Linked DNA regions of Homo sapiens: all the other regions are linked to region 1. Evidence: promoter capture Hi-C in 16 types of primary human blood cells and fetal thymus (Javierre and others, 2016). All regions are on one chromosome and are shown on one strand. Each heading gives the region's core, a stretch centred on a gene start or on the middle of the fragment in contact. The rest is flanking DNA. Distances are from core to core; before and after follow the strand shown. Region 1 holds the start of ZNF280D (zinc finger protein 280D). Region 2 overlaps TCF12 (transcription factor 12). Region 3 overlaps TCF12 (transcription factor 12). Region 4 overlaps TCF12 (transcription factor 12). Region 5 overlaps TCF12 (transcription factor 12). Region 6 has its middle 6.1 kb from the start of MNS1. Region 7 overlaps TCF12 (transcription factor 12).

The links. The method cuts DNA at HindIII sites, captures the fragments that hold promoters and counts their contacts. A CHiCAGO score of 5 or more calls a contact.
Region 2: a fragment that was not itself captured here is called in contact with the fragment with the promoter of ZNF280D in region 1 in 1 of 17 cell types (fetal thymus); the score reaches 7.6 in fetal thymus.
Region 3: a contact is called between a fragment that was not itself captured here and the fragment with the promoter of ZNF280D in region 1, in 1 of 17 cell types (fetal thymus). The highest score is 5.3, in fetal thymus.
Region 4: a fragment that was not itself captured here is called in contact with the fragment with the promoter of ZNF280D in region 1 in 1 of 17 cell types (fetal thymus); the score reaches 6.2 in fetal thymus.
Region 5: a fragment that was not itself captured here is called in contact with the fragment with the promoter of ZNF280D in region 1 in 1 of 17 cell types (fetal thymus); the score reaches 5.7 in fetal thymus.
Region 6: a fragment that was not itself captured here is called in contact with the fragment with the promoter of ZNF280D in region 1 in 1 of 17 cell types (fetal thymus); the score reaches 5.5 in fetal thymus.
Region 7: a contact is called between a fragment that was not itself captured here and the fragment with the promoter of ZNF280D in region 1, in 1 of 17 cell types (fetal thymus). The highest score is 5.2, in fetal thymus.

What each region holds. Positions count from the first base shown.
Region 1 is chr15:56,732,057-56,734,889 of GRCh38, reverse strand. It overlaps ZNF280D (zinc finger protein 280D), which reads left to right and starts at 1,381. Exons shown (of 22, transcript NM_017661.4): 1 at 1,381-1,432. RefSeq lists a silencer at 1,362-1,631. The HindIII fragment of the contact is 3,680 bases long and covers 570-2,833 here.
Region 2 is chr15:57,216,904-57,219,736 of GRCh38, reverse strand. The region is part of intron 8 of TCF12 (transcription factor 12); the gene reads right to left. Among named protein-coding and RNA genes, the nearest start is that of SNORD13D, 60 kb to the left of the region's middle. The HindIII fragment of the contact is 971 bases long and covers 921-1,891 here.
Region 3 is chr15:57,147,354-57,150,186 of GRCh38, reverse strand. All of the region lies in intron 5 of TCF12 (transcription factor 12), which reads right to left. Among named protein-coding and RNA genes, the nearest start is that of SNORD13D, 130 kb to the left of the region's middle. The HindIII fragment of the contact is 2,374 bases long and covers 309-2,682 here.
Region 4 is chr15:57,119,102-57,121,934 of GRCh38, reverse strand. The region is part of intron 5 of TCF12 (transcription factor 12); the gene reads right to left. Among named protein-coding and RNA genes, the nearest start is that of SNORD13D, 160 kb to the left of the region's middle. The HindIII fragment of the contact is 1,420 bases long and covers 712-2,131 here.
Region 5 is chr15:57,085,640-57,088,472 of GRCh38, reverse strand. All of the region lies in intron 4 of TCF12 (transcription factor 12), which reads right to left. Among named protein-coding and RNA genes, the nearest start is that of TCF12, 170 kb to the right of the region's middle. The HindIII fragment of the contact is 951 bases long and covers 868-1,818 here.
Region 6 is chr15:56,469,822-56,472,654 of GRCh38, reverse strand. No RefSeq gene overlaps it. Among named protein-coding and RNA genes, the nearest start is that of MNS1, 6.1 kb to the right of the region's middle. The HindIII fragment of the contact is 3,285 bases long and covers 1-2,833 here.
Region 7 is chr15:56,990,602-56,993,434 of GRCh38, reverse strand. All of the region lies in intron 3 of TCF12 (transcription factor 12), which reads right to left. Among named protein-coding and RNA genes, the nearest start is that of TCF12, 73 kb to the right of the region's middle. The HindIII fragment of the contact is 3,108 bases long and covers 1-2,833 here.

The DNA of each region.
Region 1 (2,833 bases), core at 132-2,631:
TAAACACTTGAGAAAAACTGGGGAAAGCCAGATGAGAGAGAAGAAACTGAATTCGAATAGGAAGATGAATTAGCAAGATTCAGTGATTGAACAGGGTGTCTGTTATGGATCCTAACAGGCAAGATTTCAAGTCTTGGTCACTCACAAGCTGCACCAGTAATGCCATTGCTCTTGAGAAGACAATCAGTTTAGGAAACTTTCCTTACAGATCAGAATACAACCTTTAGCAAGTATTTACGCAAGCAGTATCTTGGCAAGTGTTCTTCTTGTAAATTTCTTATACTTCTCGTTGTCAAACTTTAAAAAATGCTATTACAGGTTAATATGCAGATGGCAGAGTTAGGAATTAGAGTGTGCAAGTTAATCATTCTAATTGGGTCACTCTTGTCATAGCCAACTAAAAGAATGGAGAAGCCAGTGCTGGGGGAAGCCCTCAGGGCACATAACATTGCTCTAAGAATGGAATTCTCAGCAAGCCTGGCTGCTGAAACCGCCTGCTGTAACCTGAAACAGGTTTTATCTTCAGGTTTTAGCTTCTCAAAGAACCTGCTGCAGCTGTAGGGCAAGCTTTACCAAGCCCCTTCCCTCACCAGTCAGAACTAACCAGCTACCCAAAACTTTACTAAATGTCAACGAACTTTCTAGAAAAACAATAGATAACTTTTTTTAAAAAATAAAACCCCCTAACTCCTCTTTGTTCTTCTGACATACTGAAGACCACCCTGTATGTGTAAATAACCTGAACTTGCAATTCCTGTGTCCCAAATAAAACGCTAAATGTACAGATTCGTCTCTTCGTATTTGACCTCGACAGGGAACGCAAGCAAAACCACACATTTAAAACAGACTTGGTAAAATCAGCTCGTTATTTAAAGAAACGGACGATTCCTTTTTCTCTCCTGGTTTAGTCTTCGACCCACAGGCCCCTTGCTTCTTTCGAACGGCGGCTGTATCCCATGACCTTTTCACTTTCCAAGCCAACGGACTGGGGGTCGTTACACACGCGGAGGGCCCGGAACGCACGGCTCCTCGCCTGCAAATTCCGAGCAGTCCGGATTTTGGGGCTGCCTCCCGGCCACACCAGCCAGCAGCTCGCACCCACATGGAGGCAGGGCCCTGGCCCTCGCCCCGGACCGGCGCGTGGCGGGGCGCGTGGGTCTTCGAGGGCCCGCGACGCGGCGCACATGCCGGTGCCCGCCTCCCGCGTCGGCGAGAAGACAGGGAGCTCGGACACGGGGAGGCTGACCCGGAGCCTACCCATGAGGCAGCGCGCCGGCTGCACGAGAGCCCCCCCCTTTCCACGGCTCGGCTGCCAGCTCCGCAATGGGAGCCGCCGCCGTCGCCGCAGTGTAGTTTTTCGTGCTCCTCCTTTTCCTCCTCCTCTTTCTCCTCCTCCTCAGGGCTCCAGTCAGGCCGATCCGCTCCGCTCACGGTAAGCGCCCCCCCGCCCCCGCCCGCCCTGCGCTGCAGCAGGCAGAGGCCCTCCCGCGCGGCCTGCGCCGCCTCACTCCGGGGGCGCTGGACTGGGGGTCTTGAGGCCGGCGCGGGTCGTCGGGAGCGCCCAGAGCGCGGGGGAGGAGACCGGCTGCGCGGCGGCGGCCGGACCGCCATCTTGCGTCGGCCCAGGCGGGGGAGGAGGTATCCCGGCGCGACGCGGCAGCCGCCTCGGCTGCTGCAGGCCTGGGCCGCGCAGGCCTTCGCCTTCTGCTCCTCCGCCACCTCCTCTCCCAGGCGTGTGCGCCTGTTTGTCCCCAGCCTGGTTTTGGCTTTTCTCTCTGGAGGCAACTCCCTTTGGTACATTTTGTGCCGATGTTTGGCCAAGACCCATGGTCCTCACACCACAGCCCACCCCCGTGTCTCTTCAGTCGTAGGAAAGGAGACCAAAGGGGATTCGGGATTTGCAGGCACAGGGCCCCTCATTTTGCCCAGATGACCGGTCGTTCCACGTTTGCACCCTCATTTTTGTCAAAGAGACCTCCCCTCCTCTGCCATAGAATTCCCGTTATTGTCTACAGAAGAAGGGCCCTGAGGAGAAACGTGGAGTTGGAGACAAAATTTTCTGAGCTTTGCAAGGTTCACTTACTGAGACGGAAAGAATGATCTCACTCTGAGGTTTTAGCCTGCTCCAGCGATGGAAGGAATTCCTCCCAACTTATCGCAAGTTTTAACGCTTTTAAGGAGAAATCTGCTGGAGAGGAAAAACGTCAAGGTGAACCCGCTTCTGCAAGCACGGGAGACCTTTGGCCAAAGGCCTTTGTTTGCGAAGATTTGTTAAAAAAAAAAAAATCTGTCATCTTAAATATTTGGCTTTATTTTCAGGTTTGGACAGAATTTGTCTTTTTTAGTGCCATGAAACATAAAATGGAACGCTAGAAGGACAGTTTTAAAGCACAAAAGCTGCCTCTTAGCATCTGTAAGGTGTCCTGCTTTGGGGGACTGCTGTGCCAACTCCAGCTGTCTCCACGCAGAAACTTAACCAGGGAAGGCACTGGTTTGCTTATACCATTGTTAGGGCTGTGTGCCTCTGATGTTTTAACATCACTACAAATACTGTTGTAATTGTGTCTTGCTTTTGTGCCTTTCATTGATAACCCCTGATTTGTATCTCTTAGCCCCTTTTGAAGTGGTCTGGGTTGCTGGAATCATTTTGCAGGCGAGGAAACAGAGCCTCAGGGAGAGGACTTTAATGAGGTCACTGACTAGGAAGAGCCAAGGCCAATTATATTAATAGAACCTTAGGTCTTCTGACTCCTTCTCCGGTGCTCAACTCTAGTATATACCATTTTTGTGGGAATGAGGTAGATGAGAATAGGCAAGGAGGCTCACTTAAAGA
Region 2 (2,833 bases), core at 157-2,656, 480 kb before region 1:
AAAAAAAAAAAAAAAAGAAATCTACAATCTAATACATTGCATAAAAGGATAAAACAAAACCTCACAGATTTTAGTAAAAAGCGAGTAATGTATACTGCTTTCCTTTAAACAAGTGAGTTAGAAGCTATACAAAGAAAAAGGCTTACCGTTTTCCCATTGTAGTAATACATCAAAGAATTGCTGCCCATTCCAGGGACAGGATAAGCACAATACATGTTGATTTTGAAAATGTTACTATTTGTAGCTAATGCACACAGCCTCTCTCCAAGACATATATCCACACAGGCAAAGGGAGTAAGTCTTCAGTACTATGCATTCACACATGGATCTACTCAAAAGGAACTTATGCAAAATAGGACTGAACCAACTCACAGAGCACAGAGGGAGGGTTTATGCTGTAAGTAACCTCTTTCAATTTCCATCAAGTCCTTGCATTGGTGGAGGATACCAATAAGACAAAATTTGAGGTATTAAAAAAATGCAAGTCACTTTTAAGCGCTAAATAAATATGCCCTGAATAAAAATAACCCAAGAAATTATTAGATTTGTCTCATATATACATATATACACACACAAAAGGAAGGCATACTGACAGATTTTCTGCTAATCTGTTTTTAGTTTTAATTAAATTAGAGCACTTGTGGCAGAGAAACCTAGCTTGCTACACCTCCAGCGTTACCATCTGCCATGGTCTAAAGTTGCTTCAACTTTGATAAACACATGATCAAGTAATCAGGAATTGGAAACACTGAATCATGTGTAACAAGAAGGATCTAGACAGTTAAATCTTGTACAAAATCACTTCCTGGAGAAAGCAGACCATCATGCAAATACCTCTTAACTAGCTAGAACAAACCATACTTTAAGCTACAAAAATTATGTTGAGGAAAACTGAAAGGAACACATTTTATTAAAAAGCTTAGTCCAAAAATCAGATAGATTATCTTGAAACTAAATTACCTGTTTTTAAAATGGAAACACTTAATAATACAGATTTTCAGTTATAAAGCTCCTTGAATTCTTCATACACAACACCAATCAAAAGTTTATAATGTCCTGCAATAGGACTGTTCTTAAAAAAAATTCACACATCTTTCATATAAAGTATGAGAGAATAAACTAAACAGTTTCCTATAAGTCTTTCCTCTAAGTTTATTATTGTTCTTAATACTTTGTATATTCATATTTTTATGCTAATGCTCACATTTCTCAGAAAGGAAAAATAAGAAGTGTGGGAATAAATGTCTTACAGACATTTCTAACTCATACTTCGAAGTCAAAAGGTTTTAAAAGTTGTCTACAAAAACATGTGTCTCTTACACAGACACGTTTTGCTATTTAAATGTTTTCCAATCAATCGTTTGCTGTAATTACAACCTGGAAAAACAGAATAGCAACTTTCCCTTTTTGTGTCATTTCCCTTCATCAAAACTTCTTTGTACTATCCTTCCCTCTATGCCTTGTAGGTTCTAACGGGATTGTATTAATCAGAGGAGAGCTCACAAGCTGCAAAAGGGGGCACATCACTTTTTTTAAAGGTACCTTTCATGAAGCAGAAATCCTCTGTGAAATATTCTAGGAATATACTATAAGGGACCCCCTATCCCCCCAACCTCATTTTTACTAACATATTGATCAAATTATAGTAACGAAACTAAATCAGACAATAAGGGCAACTAACTTCACAATGTTTTAAAAGCTGATAGTATTGGAACAACAATAAAACCTCCCCACACTCTCCAGATATAGAAAAGGCTAAGCAGCAGCTGCAAAAGAACATCGCTGTACAGCAGACTATTAAAATGCCAGTCTGCGGAGTGGTTTGTAACTTCCTCCCTCCTGAGAGACCACAAAGACCCATTTCAATCCTTGGAGAACTGTGTAAAAAGCTTTGATTCACAATTAACAATAGCATGCCTTAAAACCATTCAAGTAAATTTTAGTCTTCCATACACAGTCTTTCTCTACTGACAGATCGGCTACTCTCAAAACAAAAAAAAAGGAAAATCAAACAAAATCGAATCAAAATTTTCTTTTTCTATTAATTATTAAAAATAACACTTACTTTTCAATAGAAATTGAGGAGGAATAGGGAGAAGAGGGGAGCCACAAAGCACTGACAATACTTCAACATTTTTATAATCATCGCTTCAATCTGAGAAAACTTTCTTATATTGGTTAAAAAACATCCACCTATGACAGTTAAGCCCATTTCCCTGATGCCGGGCAGAAAACAGAGAGGGTACTTACTATGTTGTTTGATAAAACAAACATCATAATGTAAACCCAACTAAGCAACCTTGGTTATTAAAGCACAATGAAAATTTTAATATTTTAACACCAGTTCTTTATTTTAGAGGCAATTATATGATAATCTGAAGAGAATAAACATACATTCAGATAAAAAAGAAATTCACTGTAAAAGCCAAATAGTATAATCAAATTTCTTTAATGGAAAAAAACACAGTTACTTTTGCACAAACCTAATCAGTTTATTAAACACCTAAGTAAGATTTAGTGTTAAACATGAAACCTGAATGTGAAACATAATTTGTAAAGAGAGTTGAGTAACTAATTAAAAGCTTTTGCTTCTACTTTTCATTGTTCTCCTAAAAAACATAAATATAAAACTCGTACATGTGTAGGTAAGACCTCCCCTGCCAATACAAACCGTAGTCACTTGGTATACACTACTGCCTAAATTGAGCATAGATATAAAAACTTAAAAAAACAACAACAACAAAACTCTATGCCTGTATCTATAATTATATGATATTAAAATCTCATTCTTCAAAAACAGTAAATCATCAACAAAACTGGTGGTAATCTACAT
Region 3 (2,833 bases), core at 246-2,745, 420 kb before region 1:
TTTTACCCTATAAATCCTAGTCCCATAGCTTCTCTGAATTCTGATTTTTGTCTTCTCAACTCACAAAGACTGCCAGGCTGCGTTTGATTATCTCGTCTTTTTGCTGTGGCCCAGAATCTTCCTACAGGCAGTGAGAGAGTGGGGGTAACTTCAGGACTCACCTTGTTTTCCTGCTCTCATGGAGTGCCTACTGTCAAATGTCTGAAAAGTAATGATTTAGTTAGGACCACTATGAAACTTCCTAAGGTTTTTATACCTCTTAGAAACCCTTTCACACACCCCCTTTAAAGGAAAAAAATAAAAAAGCTTTCTCCTAGTCTTTCTCTAGCAAACCCATTTTTACAGATCAGAAAAAGATAGAACATAACAAAACTTGACTTCTGTAAATAATCAGACTTTCCAACAAACAAAGACTGCTTAGAGTAGTGCATGAGGTAGAAGATAACCTGAAAAGTTGGATCTACATTTGCTACTATCTTTACTTTTTGGAGTAGCCTAAGTTAAAAACATCCTACTCAGCGAGACTTTACCATAATAGATAATGGGTTTGATAAACTCTTGGACAATCTAAAAACTTTGTTAAACTACCTCTGTTTTTATGATATTGTGCTCTCTTATTTCCAACATTAGATGTTTTATTTCTAAAATACTTTGAATTCCACTAAGTCTGCTGACATATTTGAATTTAGAACAAACTGCTCTAAGAAAATGATCTCCTGTACTAACTACACACATAGCTATTTCTAAAAGGTTAAAAGGCTGGCAATTTTCCAGTTCTTTCTCATCATTTCAGTTATGAAATACAATGTCCAGTTCCTAGTTCTCTTCTATTTTCTTTGGCATGTTGTGACCAGTTCTCCAAATTCAGTATCATGTATTTTGTTGTGTAGGTCTTTAATTCCTGGCCCCAACCCTTGCCCACATACATATACTCTAAATATATGCTACAGATAACCACAGGGCATGAAAAACACTGGTGAAAATTGCTATTATTAAATTTTACTGCTTCTTAGAGGTCTGTCTCTCACTATGCAAGCTACGTCATATTTACATTTATTTTGACACTTTTATATTCAATTTAAAAAGTCACTGATTTCATTAAAATATTTTGACAAACTATATGCTAACTAACAGTAAAATTTATACTGAAAAATCTTAAAGCACTCCTGTTCTTTCTCCGAGGGATTTGTATATCCTGGCAATGTAAACATAGATTTAAGACTACACCTAGACCCGTCTCACGTGGGAAAACTGGTCACGTTGTTGTTAGTTATAATGCTTGTAAGTACATTTGAGCTTTCTGTTGTTGTTGAGATGAGGTCTCATTCTGTTAACCAGGCTGCAGTGCAGTGGCACAGTCCTGGCTCACTGCAACCTCTACCTCCAGGCTCAAGCTATCCTCTCACCTCAACCTCCTGAGTAGCTGGGACCACAGGTGCACACCACCATGCCCAGCTAAATTTTGTATTTTTTTTTTTTTTTTTTGCCACGTCACCCAGGCTGGTCTCGAACTCCTAGACTCAAGTGATCCACCCACCTCAGCCTCCCAAGTGTTGGGAATACAGGCATGAGCCACTGTGCCTGGCCATTTGAGCATTTTTTGAAAAAACAATTTTTGTAAACTTGTATTTTGTCATTTTCCTTGAACATTCCAACTTTCCAAGTTCCCTCCCACTGAAGGCTGCTGGTTTGGCTTGTTAGCCCCTCTGTATGAATTGTTCTTTTGTCACAGCATTAAGTCTGTGAGGGAAACTAGACAATTTTTTTTTTTTTTTAAACAAAGTCTTCCTCTGCTGCCCAGGCTGGAGTGCAGTGGTGTGATCATAGCTCATTCCAGCCTCCAAACCCTGGGTTCAGCCTTCAAACAGCTGGGACTACAGGTGCATTTGCATTTATTCAAATATTATTTCCTCAGAGAAGGGTTCTCTGACTAAACTATCTAAAATAACCCCACTCTAGCCTTTCTTTCTTTCTTTCTTTTTATTATACTGTTAACAAAAATCGACCTGGTAAAGTGGCTCACACCTGTAATCCCAGCACTTTGGAAGGCCAAGGTGGGAGGATGGCTTGAGCCCAGGAGTTTGACACCAGCCTGGGCAACATAGTGCGATCGTGTCTCTACAAATAATAATAAAAAAAAATTAGCAGGGCATGGTGACGTGCACCTGTACTCCCAGCTATTCGAAGGCTGAGGTGAGAGGATTGTTGAGTCCAGGATTTGGAGGCTGAAATGAGCTATGACCACACCACTGCACTCCAGCCTGGGCAGAAGAGCAAGACTTTGTTTAAAAAAAAAAAAAAAAAGTCTAGTTTCCCTTGCAGAGATAATGAAACTTGGCCAGTAACCTTTGGTAAAACCATTATAACTCACAATTTCCCCTTTTCCTATTATAAAGTTTAGGAACTCTGCTTTAATTTGTATTGTCACTTTATCTACATTTTACTATCATTTTCCATATTTGTATTTTGCTATTATCACATATGTGATAACTGAACCCAAAACTCCTTTGCATTTTCTGTTCCTGTGACTGTCTCTTTCCATTCATAATTTTATAAAATATGCACAAGGATTTAACTGCACCTTTATAGGTTTTTTATTTTATACTTTCTGTTTTTTTTCCCTAGAACATGCAAAGATCTCACTTAGTGCTTTTATGGTAAGAGTTTATTTTGGGTAAAGCTTTAAAAAAAGTATAAAATGCTTTAAAATATTTCAATGAAAGATTATAGCAGATAAGCAGGATTAATTTAAAAAACAAACTATTTGGGGATCAGAAGTAGTTGTTTAATAGGATATAGGTTTAGAGTTCCCAAAAGATATCTTACAACTAAG
Region 4 (2,833 bases), core at 172-2,671, 390 kb before region 1:
AAATATGGCAAGGACAACCTAGTAAGTTATATATAACTCCACAAAACTCCAAAGAATCTTCCCCAAGAATTCCAGGAACAATAGAGCTGTATCCATGAACATTATTCCTTTTTAAAGAAGAACACTGTCAGACCATTTGTGCTGCTGTAACAAAAATTCCATAGAATCGGTAATTTACAAACAATACAAATTTATTTCTCATGGTTCTAGAGACTGAGAAGTCTAAGATTAAGGGGCTAGCAGGACTGGCATCTGATATGGGTTGCTCTCTGCTTCCAACATGGCACTTTATTGCTGCCTCCTCTGAGGGGAGCAATACTGTATCTTCAAATGGCAGAAGGGCAAGAGATAAACGCTGTGTCCTCACAGGGTAGAAGAGTGGAAGGGCAAGAAGGTGCGCCTTTCGACCTTGAGCCACTTCATAAGGCGTTAATCCTATTTATGATAGTGAAGCTCTGTCATAATTTAATAACCTCCCACAGGCCAACTACACCTTTTAACACTGTTGCATTGAGGGTTAAATTTCAACATGAATTTTGGAGCAGATACCATCATTCAAACCATGGCAAACACTATTGTTCAAATAAATTCAGTGAACTCATGGAACTGCTCTAATTTCAGAGTGAACCGAATTCATATTTAGAAAACAACCAAAAATGTATTATTTAAACAGTGACAAAGTCTGGTTCTATCCATCAGCGAAGTTAAGCTTCATCTTTGTCCTAGACTAGCGAAAGAACCTCAGTTTCTACGTCAGTCATGTAGCCTCACTGGTAGATGTCATCATCTATATAGCCTCTGGAATGTATGTCAGCTCCAGATCATGCCAAAATGCTACTTCTTTCAGTTTCAAAAACAGATATCCATAAAACTCCTGTTCCAGATTACCTTTCAGTATCAGCTCATTTGCAGAGGAGAGACAACAGGCATTTTCCTTTCCTTTCTTTTCTTTTTTTTAGACAGTCTCACTTTTTCACCCAGGCTAGAGTGCAGAGGTGCAATCATGGCTCACTATAGCCTCAATCTCCTGGGTCCAAGTGATCCTCCAACCTCAGTATCCTGAGTAGATGGGGCCACAGGCTTGCCACAACAGACATTTTCTGAGCCCACTTAACAACCAAACTCTTCCAGTCTCTCATTAAAGAATGTCTCACTTTCCTACACACTGAGATTCCTCACTCAGGTGGCTCTCACAGGAGATCAGCATTTACCAAAAACATTTTAGGAGAAGGATCAAAATCTTACAGGTCCCATATGTAAAATTAGATATGGTGGGGCATAGCAAAAAAATATAGAAATATAATTGTCCATATAATATAAATAAAATATGCTGATAAAATTTTATTCTTCAAGAAGCTGGCAACCTAACAGGAGAGACAGATATGCATTCAAACAACTATAACAAAAGCCAAAACATACACAGAACTGTAAGTCCTGAGAGCTCATCAATGGCAGGGATCATGTAATCTATCTACAGTTTAAAAGCAGTTCAACAAACAATTATTGAGCACTTGATATATATCAGATATTGGATAGGGCCAAGGGAAGAAATGAATCAAGACATCCTATCTTCAAGAAAACTCCAACCTAAAAGCAAGTGTACACAAACAGCAAATTTCAGCATAACATATACAGGGAGCCACAGACAAAACAGCAAGGGAGCACTGAATCCAAGTTGGGAGTTTAGGCAAGGCTTTCTAGAAAAGACAAGCATGGGTTGAAAACTCCAGGACGGCAAAGTCATAAATGCTTCCATTACCAATGTACATCCGAGTAGTCAACGCAGTATCTAGCAAATGGCAGAAATGCAGTAAGTACTGATAAATGAACTGACAGATTTAATTAGGCAAAAAAATGTATGAAGGGCATTTCAGTTAGGGGGAATAATGTGAAAGAAAAGCATGCAAACATAAAACACTTCAAACTAAATGTGTAATTATAAGCAGGTAAATAGTAGTAGGACCTAAGACTCATGACAAGAAATGACAGGAAATAAGGATGGGATATTTGAATACCCTGCATTTAGCTAAGGTTCTGAGACAGAAACAAGGTTGGTGGTCCAAAAAACTTTCAATGTAGTAATGTAAACAACTGATTTTTTTAAAGAGATATAAAGTACTATGGGAAAGCTTAAGAGAAAGAGGTGAATTCCTATTTAGGATTGCCACAGGATCACATGACGAATATTTACCAAGGATCTGCTAAATCAGTGATATTGTGATTCCACTGCCCATTCCTTTAAGAGTTAAAATATTCTAAAATCCAAAGTATACAGTATCCATATGGAGTGAGGGCTGTTGAATAAAGTAGGAGGAAGAAAAGAGACTCTATTTCTTAATTTTGTTTCCAAATAACACAAGGATGAAAAAAGAAACTTCAATTTTACTAGCTGGTTTACAATTATACTTGACTACGGAGTCTCAAAAATAGCATACAGTATCGTATCTAGTATGAAGAAGATACTTAAAAAAAAAAAGCTGTGGACCGGGTACGGTGGCTCATGCCTATAATTCCAGCGGTTTGGAAGGCTGAGCGGAGAGGATTGCTTCACATCAGGAGTTTGAGACTAGCCTGGGCACAATGTGAGACCCTGTCTCTACAAACACTGCCCACCCACCGACCTGCTGCCAAAAAAACAAAAAAACAAACAAACAAACAAAAAAACAAAACCACCATTAGCCAGTCATGGTGGTTCATACTTGCAGTCCCAGCTACTCAGGAGGCTGAGGCAGGAGAATCACTTGAACTGGGGAGGTGGAGATTGCAGTGAGCTGAGATCGTGCCACTGCACTCCAGCCTGGTGAAAGAGTGAGACTCCGTCACAAAAAAGAAA
Region 5 (2,833 bases), core at 94-2,593, 350 kb before region 1:
ATTTTTATGTATGTATGTAATCATCCATGTAGTTTTAAAAGTAGAAGGTAGCTTAGCTGTCAAATATAGCCCCAATGAAAGAAATAGGTTAGTTGACTAGGAGTTTAAACTTCTTCTGAAATACCACATAGAGTTAGGCAACAAGCATGGCTGCTCATAGAGCAAAAGGGGAAAATGTCATAAACCAGAGCACTCACGGGGCTGACAGAATAGCAGAGAACAAAGCAAAATAATGTAGTAACTTCCAACAGGCTGGAGAACATAGGTTGAAGGTAAATGGCCTAAGGGAGTGGTTGCAGTGACAAGAAAAGAACAAAAACCAAGCAAACAATGGTTAAGTTGGAGCCCGAGTGGATCAACCAATGGGACCAGTAAATGAATGCTATTTCAATTTTAAAATATAAAGGAAGTAAATCAGTGACATCATTAAATATACAATGATCATGCTGCATATTTCAAATTGATAGAAAGTTACTATGCTAATAAAAGGGGTCAAACATGGCTCCCAGGACTCCTAATTAAGATCTTGAATTCTGTTAATAGCAACTAAGATAAACGAGATTTTTTAATACATGAGATGACATACATTATGAAGGACAGAGCAATACTATCAGAATTATCTATTACACCAGCCTTTTAGCCACAATATGCTATTGAACACCAAAATATTTCCAAATACAACCTAAACAATCACTGTTCCCATCTTATAAAAATGGAAAGCACTCAAGATATTAATAATTGATAAAATCAGTTGATGCATGGCAAGATTACAAAAACCATTAATTTCTATACTTAAAATCTGTCTAAAATTTGGTTGGTAAATCTTAAATAATTCCATCTATGAATGCATAATACTTCATAAAAGCTTTGATATTATAAAATGTGGTCTATAAAGTAGATTTCATACTTTTCTCTATGTTCATTTCCTGATGCAGGAACTTAGAAATGTTAACCCCTGCTACAGTATGACAACAGACCTGAAGTGATCAAAGCAGCTTCCATATTTAAACTAAACAGCACATAATCAAATATATATATATATAAATTTTTTTTTTTTTTTTGAGACAGGGTCTTGCTCTGTTGCTCAGGCTGGAGTGCAGTGGCATGATCACAGCTCAACGCAGCCTCAATCTGCTGGGCTCAAGCAATCCTCCCACTTCAGCCTCCTGAGTAACTGGGACTACAGGCACACACCACCACGACCAGCCAATATTTTTATTTTTTGTCGAGATGGGGTCTCCTATGTTGTCCAGGCTAGTCTTGAATTCCTGGGCTCAAGTGAACCTCCCATTTTGGCCTCCCAAAATGTGGGCAATCAAATATTTTGTTGTATCCAAGGTGAGCAGGGGGGTAGGGAGAGGGAGAGGGAGAGAGAGGGAGACAGAGGGAGACAGAGGGAGAGAGAGGGAGACAGAGGGAGACAGAGGGAGAGAGAGGGGAAGAGACAGAGGGAGACAGAGGGAGAGAACACACCTAGTATTATTTATATAATAGTACTCTTATCTGGTTTCTCACCTCAAAAATACAAGAATTTTTTCTTTTGGCTAATTTTTAAAACGGCTCATTTAAAAAATTTATCTCATCCAATTTATAGAGTATCATCACCAGAGGATCTTTCCCAGTTCAGAATACACTTACAGTTTTACAAACCTATGTTGTTATTTCTTTGTATGAAAATCAGTTTAAAAAAAAGAAACCACTGTTTTTAAAATTCTATTAAAAAATTTTTCAATTCTTTTCAATGGCCTTTTTTTTTTTTTTTTTTTTAAAGGGAGGGAAAGAGGCTCTTTGAATAAAGATTACTTTCTCAGGAAAGCTTTCCCTGGACCCTAACAAGACCAAATTGCGTGAGATTATTCTGTGCTCCCACAGCAGTGAGCACTCCATCATTGCACGGCTCCTACTTATTAAAACTGCCTATTTAATTATCCATTTAAATTAAATTTATAATTTAAATTTGTGTTATAATTGCACAGCATAGTGTAGTGGATAAACATGAAATTTTTGGAGCCAGACTGGCAGGTAATTCCATCTTTGGTACATACAAGCTATGTGGCATGGGGCATATTAAACTTTCTTATCTCAGTTTCCTTATCTGTAAAATGTAGATGATGGTAATAAGAATGCGTTCACTTCACAGGTTGTTACAAAAGGATTAAATAAGTAAATATATGTAGCACTTGGAAAAGTTCCTGGCACATAGTAAGCACATAATAAACACTAGTCATTATATTATTATTATTATTATTATTATTATTATCATCATCATCCAAGTTAGAGATTATGTCTTACAAATTCTGAGAGCACAGGGACCCTATTTTTTTTCTTTTTCCCCCAACAATGACATCCTCAGAATGATGCCTGCCACATACATAGCAGGTGCTGAACAAATGACAAAGGGAGGGGAGGAGGTTTTAGCTGCTAAATCTTTAAAATGCTGCTGAGTTTTAGATATTATAAATGTCCAATCAGTTTCTCCATAGACCTCAGGGTAACTATCAGAAAGAAAGGTGGTAAGAAACTAGCTTATCTAACCGGATTGAACAAGTATCCACGGGTTTCTGGTATTCAAAGAGCTACAAGATTTCCCACCAATTACCGAAATCTTACACCCTCTAAGTGGGCAAAAGCCAGAAGAATCGGCCAAAACCCATAAGCCATCAGAAAGTTCTGGATGAGGCCTGGATATAAATAAGTGTTTATGCTTCAAAGTGAAATATTAATAAAATGGAAAGTTAAAAAAGTAAGAATAAATGCAGTTTCAAAGAGAGAAAAGTGTTCTTACTGTATTTCTTCACTTACCCCATCATAAATTGCCAAAATTAATGTCTAG
Region 6 (2,833 bases), core at 90-2,589, 260 kb after region 1:
GTGAGTGATGTCTAATCCAGGTGGTACTTGCAGGCCATGCCATCCCTCAAGGATTCTATGTGTCTGATTCCAAGATGTGGGCAGAAAATCTAGCATGTAGAGTATTTTTAGAGAAGAGCTCAGTGAGGCAGCAATAATAACAAATATGATGTATGAGAAGATCAGAGGAAATGAGAGCCACTATCAGTGTGGGAAGCATGGTGGTATGCCATATGTCAGTGTGGCAGCCATGGAAGTGCCCTGCTCAGAATTGTCCTTAGGGGAACCTGCTGCAAGGAAGGTGCTCCTCCCTGAACCTCCAGATGCTACACATTCAGATTTGCTGCTGCGTCCATGCTGAGACCATGCTATCCCCTAAGTACTCCTGGCCAATGCCAGGATATGAGAGCCAGGGCTTTTGACACAACATGGGACATATCTAATGGGAAGTCTTTGCTTGGAGACTTCCCATTAGCCTGGTAGAAACTCTCTCAGAATTGTGCTGCTGCTTGAGGCTCCTTTTTCTTTTCCTCTCTGCTTTTATGAGTTAGATCTATATTATGGTCTCTTTTTCCCCTCCCTCTTTAGCTTTCTTAGGACTTTCTCCAAATAAACCTCTTGACCATCCAATTCCATCCCAGCATTTGCAACTCAGAGGACGCTAACTGATGCAGAGTGTGGCGATTGCCCTGGTCGATGCCAAGGAGGGATAAAAATATACATAACTTGAGTAGGAATTAGGATCTTATTCTGCTGGTGGGGACTGATTAGCAATGGTTTCTCTTTGGTTGTTGTAGTTACCATTATCGCAGTTCCTCATTTATGCTCTCTCATGATGGCACGGCATTAGGATAAATGCATTGTAGTAAAATTTACTTCCAGAGAGAAAAAAAATCCATGTTTTCACAGATTCTAAGACTTTTTTTTTTTGCATTTTAACCTTTCTGAAATTGGGATATCTTTAAATAGATTATTTGCTACAATTTAATTAGTAGGATTGTTTTCTTCTTTACTGATGAATAAAATAATGGTGCATATCATTGATGATGTCATAGATTTGATCAAATTTATCAGCTCAGTTCAGGTCACCAGATGCCAGTTACTATAACAGATTCTAAAGAACTAAGGGGCTGGATTAGGTTTTGTGAATTATTATTTGACTATTTCTTAGGTATATCTACTAGGAAAGGAAAGAAAAACCCTAAGGAACAGAATTATATGGTGGAGAGGTACACAGTTGGTAACTGTTGCTCTGAATACATTAGTAGAGAAATAGCCAGAGAAGCATAAAAAAAATAGGAAGCAAGAATGTCTCTCATCACTTATGGTGCTATTCACTTTTTTACTCTTCCCATTTTCTTTCTTTTTTTTTTTTTTTTTTTTTTTTTTGCTACTTTTATGACTAATGCTGCCTTAGAGGCCACTATTACCTTGTTGTTCAGGTTATTCTGTAATCCTCATAGCAATATCTTATAAAACAAGAGACCTATGATAGGTTAGGTTTTCACTCTATATATTGAACTCCTCATTGATATGTGGACAGAAATCAACAAGTAGAGGACCAAGCAAACTAATTAAGTTTACCCACCATCTCCAGTGGGATGGGTCAGATGGAAGGATCTGTTTCCTTGATTCCTGTCACATGTACCTGTTGATCTAATTGGATTCCTTGGCACTACCTGCTTATAAAATTAGTATTGAAAGTGTTGTTTCCTTTCTCTCCAGATGCTGCCTTTATGCCTGCATCAGTTTTCCCTAGCATTCCCCATACTTCCAAATTAGGAAGTCTCTGCTTCTAACAAAATATCGTTGTTATTGCTGATATGGACACAAATCAGCAAGTACTGGATACCTAATACAATTTAGTAATTGTCATTATTGTTCTATAAATACTATGTAGAACATATATTGTATAATATTCTATGAGCACATCGCATTTCATTATGTATAAATTGTTATATCATCTACGATACTGTTAACATGATATCTTTTATTACAGTCAGAGTAATTAATTGTAATACAAATTTTAATAAAACAAAGCTGGGTTTGCCTAGGAAAGAGTAAATGAGGAATCACTTTGGTTTACTACTCTATAATTATTGGAAGGATTGGTACAATTAGTTGAAAATACTTCAAATATGTCTGATTCAGTGATTCTTTGAAAAAATTATTTGGAGTGGAGTGATGCCATTGACATTGTGGGAAAAATTCTTAAAATGTGAACTTTGCTATAATTCAAAGAGGTATCTTCCTAAGATTGAGAAAGAGAGGCAATATGGTCTAACTCATTTTCAAAACTTTCTGACCTTCACCCTTAGTAAGATACATATTTTACATCGTGACCCAATATATACATTCTATCTATCTATTGATAGGTCAATCAATCATCTATCTAGAACTAAAAAGTGTCACAAAACAATACCTAGTTAACTAGATTTGATGCACTCTATATTTTCTGGGCTATTCTATTCCATTTCTTTTTAAATACTGTTTGTGATCCATAGTTTGAAAAATGCTGGATTCATGAAAAATGAGCTAGGAGACAGACTTCGTACAAATCTCTGTCCCATGATTACCCCTTTCTACGAGCTTGCCTAGTTAATTCTTTCCTTTGAATCTTGTTTTCTTCATCTATAAAGTGAATGGGGTTGTTTTACTAAGTAAAGACAATTACATGTGAAGTGATTGGCACGTAAGAGGCACTCAATAAATCAATAAATGATAAGGTAGCAGGATAATGTTTTCTAATATTAATCAAGTGTTTTCCACTACATTTCCTTACGCGCTTTGTCGTCTATTATGAAGGCAAGGTTGTTACAGAACTGCTAGACTGTTCTTACCTGTTTGGTCTTTC
Region 7 (2,833 bases), core at 189-2,688, 260 kb before region 1:
TGACTTGGAAACAAGAAATGGAAGAACAAAGAGATGAAGAAGGAAAAAGAAAAAGCAATGGGATTTGTCAACTGGAGAGGAAAGTTCTCATCCCTCAGTTTTGACCATGGGCTCCTGCTGTAGTCTCTGCTGCCATTACCACACGGTTGCTTGGGAATAGGGCATGAGAGATGGAGAAGACAAAAAAAATGACAAAATTTTCATTCTGAACTTAGCAGTTATCTTTCCTGTTCCTTGAGCCAGAAGTAGCAGGCGTCTTTTAGAGCTTTCTGTTTCAGATTGCCCCACTTTTAGGTTTTAGATTGTGTTAAGTTGTCTGGGGATGCTGGAAGAAAAAAAAAATGGTAAACTCACAGCCAGTGAGATGGTATTCTGAATGCTAGTCTTCATTCATATCCCACCTGGTATTATTTATTCTGCAGAGTCCAGAAGAGTTCCATCCATTTTGCCTAGGTTTTATAGATGCATTCAGTGAGAAAGACGGGGTGCATGTGGTTAATCCATCATACTTGGAAAAGGGAACTAACCTCTAACTTCTTCTCAGTTGCTCAATTCTCACTGACACATGAACTCCTCAAATATCCTTATAAAAAGATAATCGGTAATTTAAAATAAGACAATAGTCCTAAGCATTCTTCTATTCACCAAAATTGCACTAATTCACATGGTAACTAACTCATGAAAAGATAGCCGTAACACTATTAATAAAATCCAATCATGTTTTGGCTAAACAGCTTTTATGACTACAGATGATCACTGCAAGGTCCTCAAAATTTTGTAGTGCACTATCAGAAAAGAAGAACTCTACTTCCTCACTCTTTAGCCTTTATAAAATTCACAATGGCATAATGTATAGCACATCACTAGGTATTTGTGTCTGTGATCCATTTACAGGTGATTAGGTAAGAATCACCATTCAACAAAATGTTATGTGACTTTCAATAGTAGACTCAAATTAAAATTATTCAGGACATGTTTTATTTCAGAAGAATGACCCTTAATCTCTTTCAAACCCTGGCTGCTACGTGAGAAACAAAAGCTGTAAAATTTAGTTTTAACAACAACAACAAAAAATTAAAAGCAGAAAGAATGTGGCAATAAAACTTAATTAAAGGAGACTGGATTTAGAAGCAAGGCTTAAATTTTTATTTATTTATTTACTGTGAGACAGGGTCTCACTCTGTCACCCAGGCTAGACTACAGTGTAATGATCACAGCTTACTGCAGCCTCAACCTCCTGGGCTCACATCATCCTCCCACCTCAGCCTCCTGAGTAAGTGGGACCAGAAGCATACATCACCATGCCCAACTAGGTTTTTTTTTTTTCTTTTTGGCTTTTTTTTAGTAGAGACACGATCTCACTGTATTGCCAAGATTGATCTGGAACTGCTGGTCTCAAGTGATCCTCCCACCTCAGCCTCCTAAAGTACTAGGGTACAGGCATGAGCTACTGTGCCTGGCATAGGAGATCAATTTTTAAGGAAATCTAAAGAATCATATGACAATAGTGTTTATCTCCATAATAAACTTAAAAGTTGTTTTAACCAACTTACTTTTTCTATACCCTGATGGTTAAAAGACAGTTAACCCTTGTACAATGTATTAATCAATGATGATAATTATTTCCCTAAATAAAAAAAAGGGCACTATAATTGAGATTTAACTTTGTAGTTCTGACAGAAGAGTATTTGGAAGGAATTAAGGTACACAAAAAATGAGTAACTCATCTGAATTTAGTTTAAAAATGTTAAATGTTTTGCCATGAAAACTTATTAACCCTAAATGTCTTTTAAATCTTTAGACCATCTTCATTCAAGCAGTAGGTATAGCTCTAAATTCACAGACTAAAAAGGACATTTTCCATAGTGCATATTGATAAGATCATATTTCCTCCAAACTTTATATAAATAGGTCCAAACTTTACTGTCAAACAATTAGATTTTCTGAACTGAGTAAATTAAAACCTTATATTGTAGAAATTAGAATTATATGGAAGATAACATAAGGTCACAAGTTCAGCCCTTTCAATGCAAATTCAATATTCCACTTTTTCCTATGTCTCTAACTGGTCAACCATTTTATCTTGTCCAATGTGGGACACTAGTCATTAGATGGAAACGGAAGACTGGTGAGGAAAGAGAAAAGAGGAGGAAAAGTAAAGAAATCAGGAGAGAATTGGATGCATAAATCAGTGCAAATCCTTCACGGTTAGTGAAAATCAACTGAATATGTGAGATGGTGGGTTGGGAATATCATCTTTCATTACATGACACATTTACGTAAGGCGAGCTTGGGAGACTAAAGCAAACCCCTGAGATTTGTTAACAAATCTGAAGACTGGCCAGGCACAGTGGCTCGCGTCTGTAATGTCAGCACTTTGGGAGGCTGAGGTGGGAGGACTGATTAAGCCCAGGAGTTTGACAGCAGCCTGGGCAACATGGTGAGACCCCATCTCTACAAAAAAATTTAAGGATTAGCCAAGTGCAGTGGTGCACATCTGTGGCCCCAGCTACTGTGGAGGCTGAGGTAGGAGCATTGCTTGAGCCTGGAAGGTAGAGGCTCCAGTGAGCCATGATTATGCCACTTCACTCTCCAGCCTAGGTGATAGAGCAAAACCCTGTCTCAAAAAAAAAAAGAAAAAGAAAAAAATTCTGAAGAGTTATAAAGAAATTTTAACGTAGGTGTTCTGGTCAAAGCTGCTAAAGTTTTTAAAGCTCAGCAGTATTTCAGAATCATAACCCAAGAACACATTGGGCTATCAAGCTACAAGTTCTGCAGTAAGTATGCTACAGGCCAACAGATATGTAGAGTAGTGTTAATAACAAATCTGCAA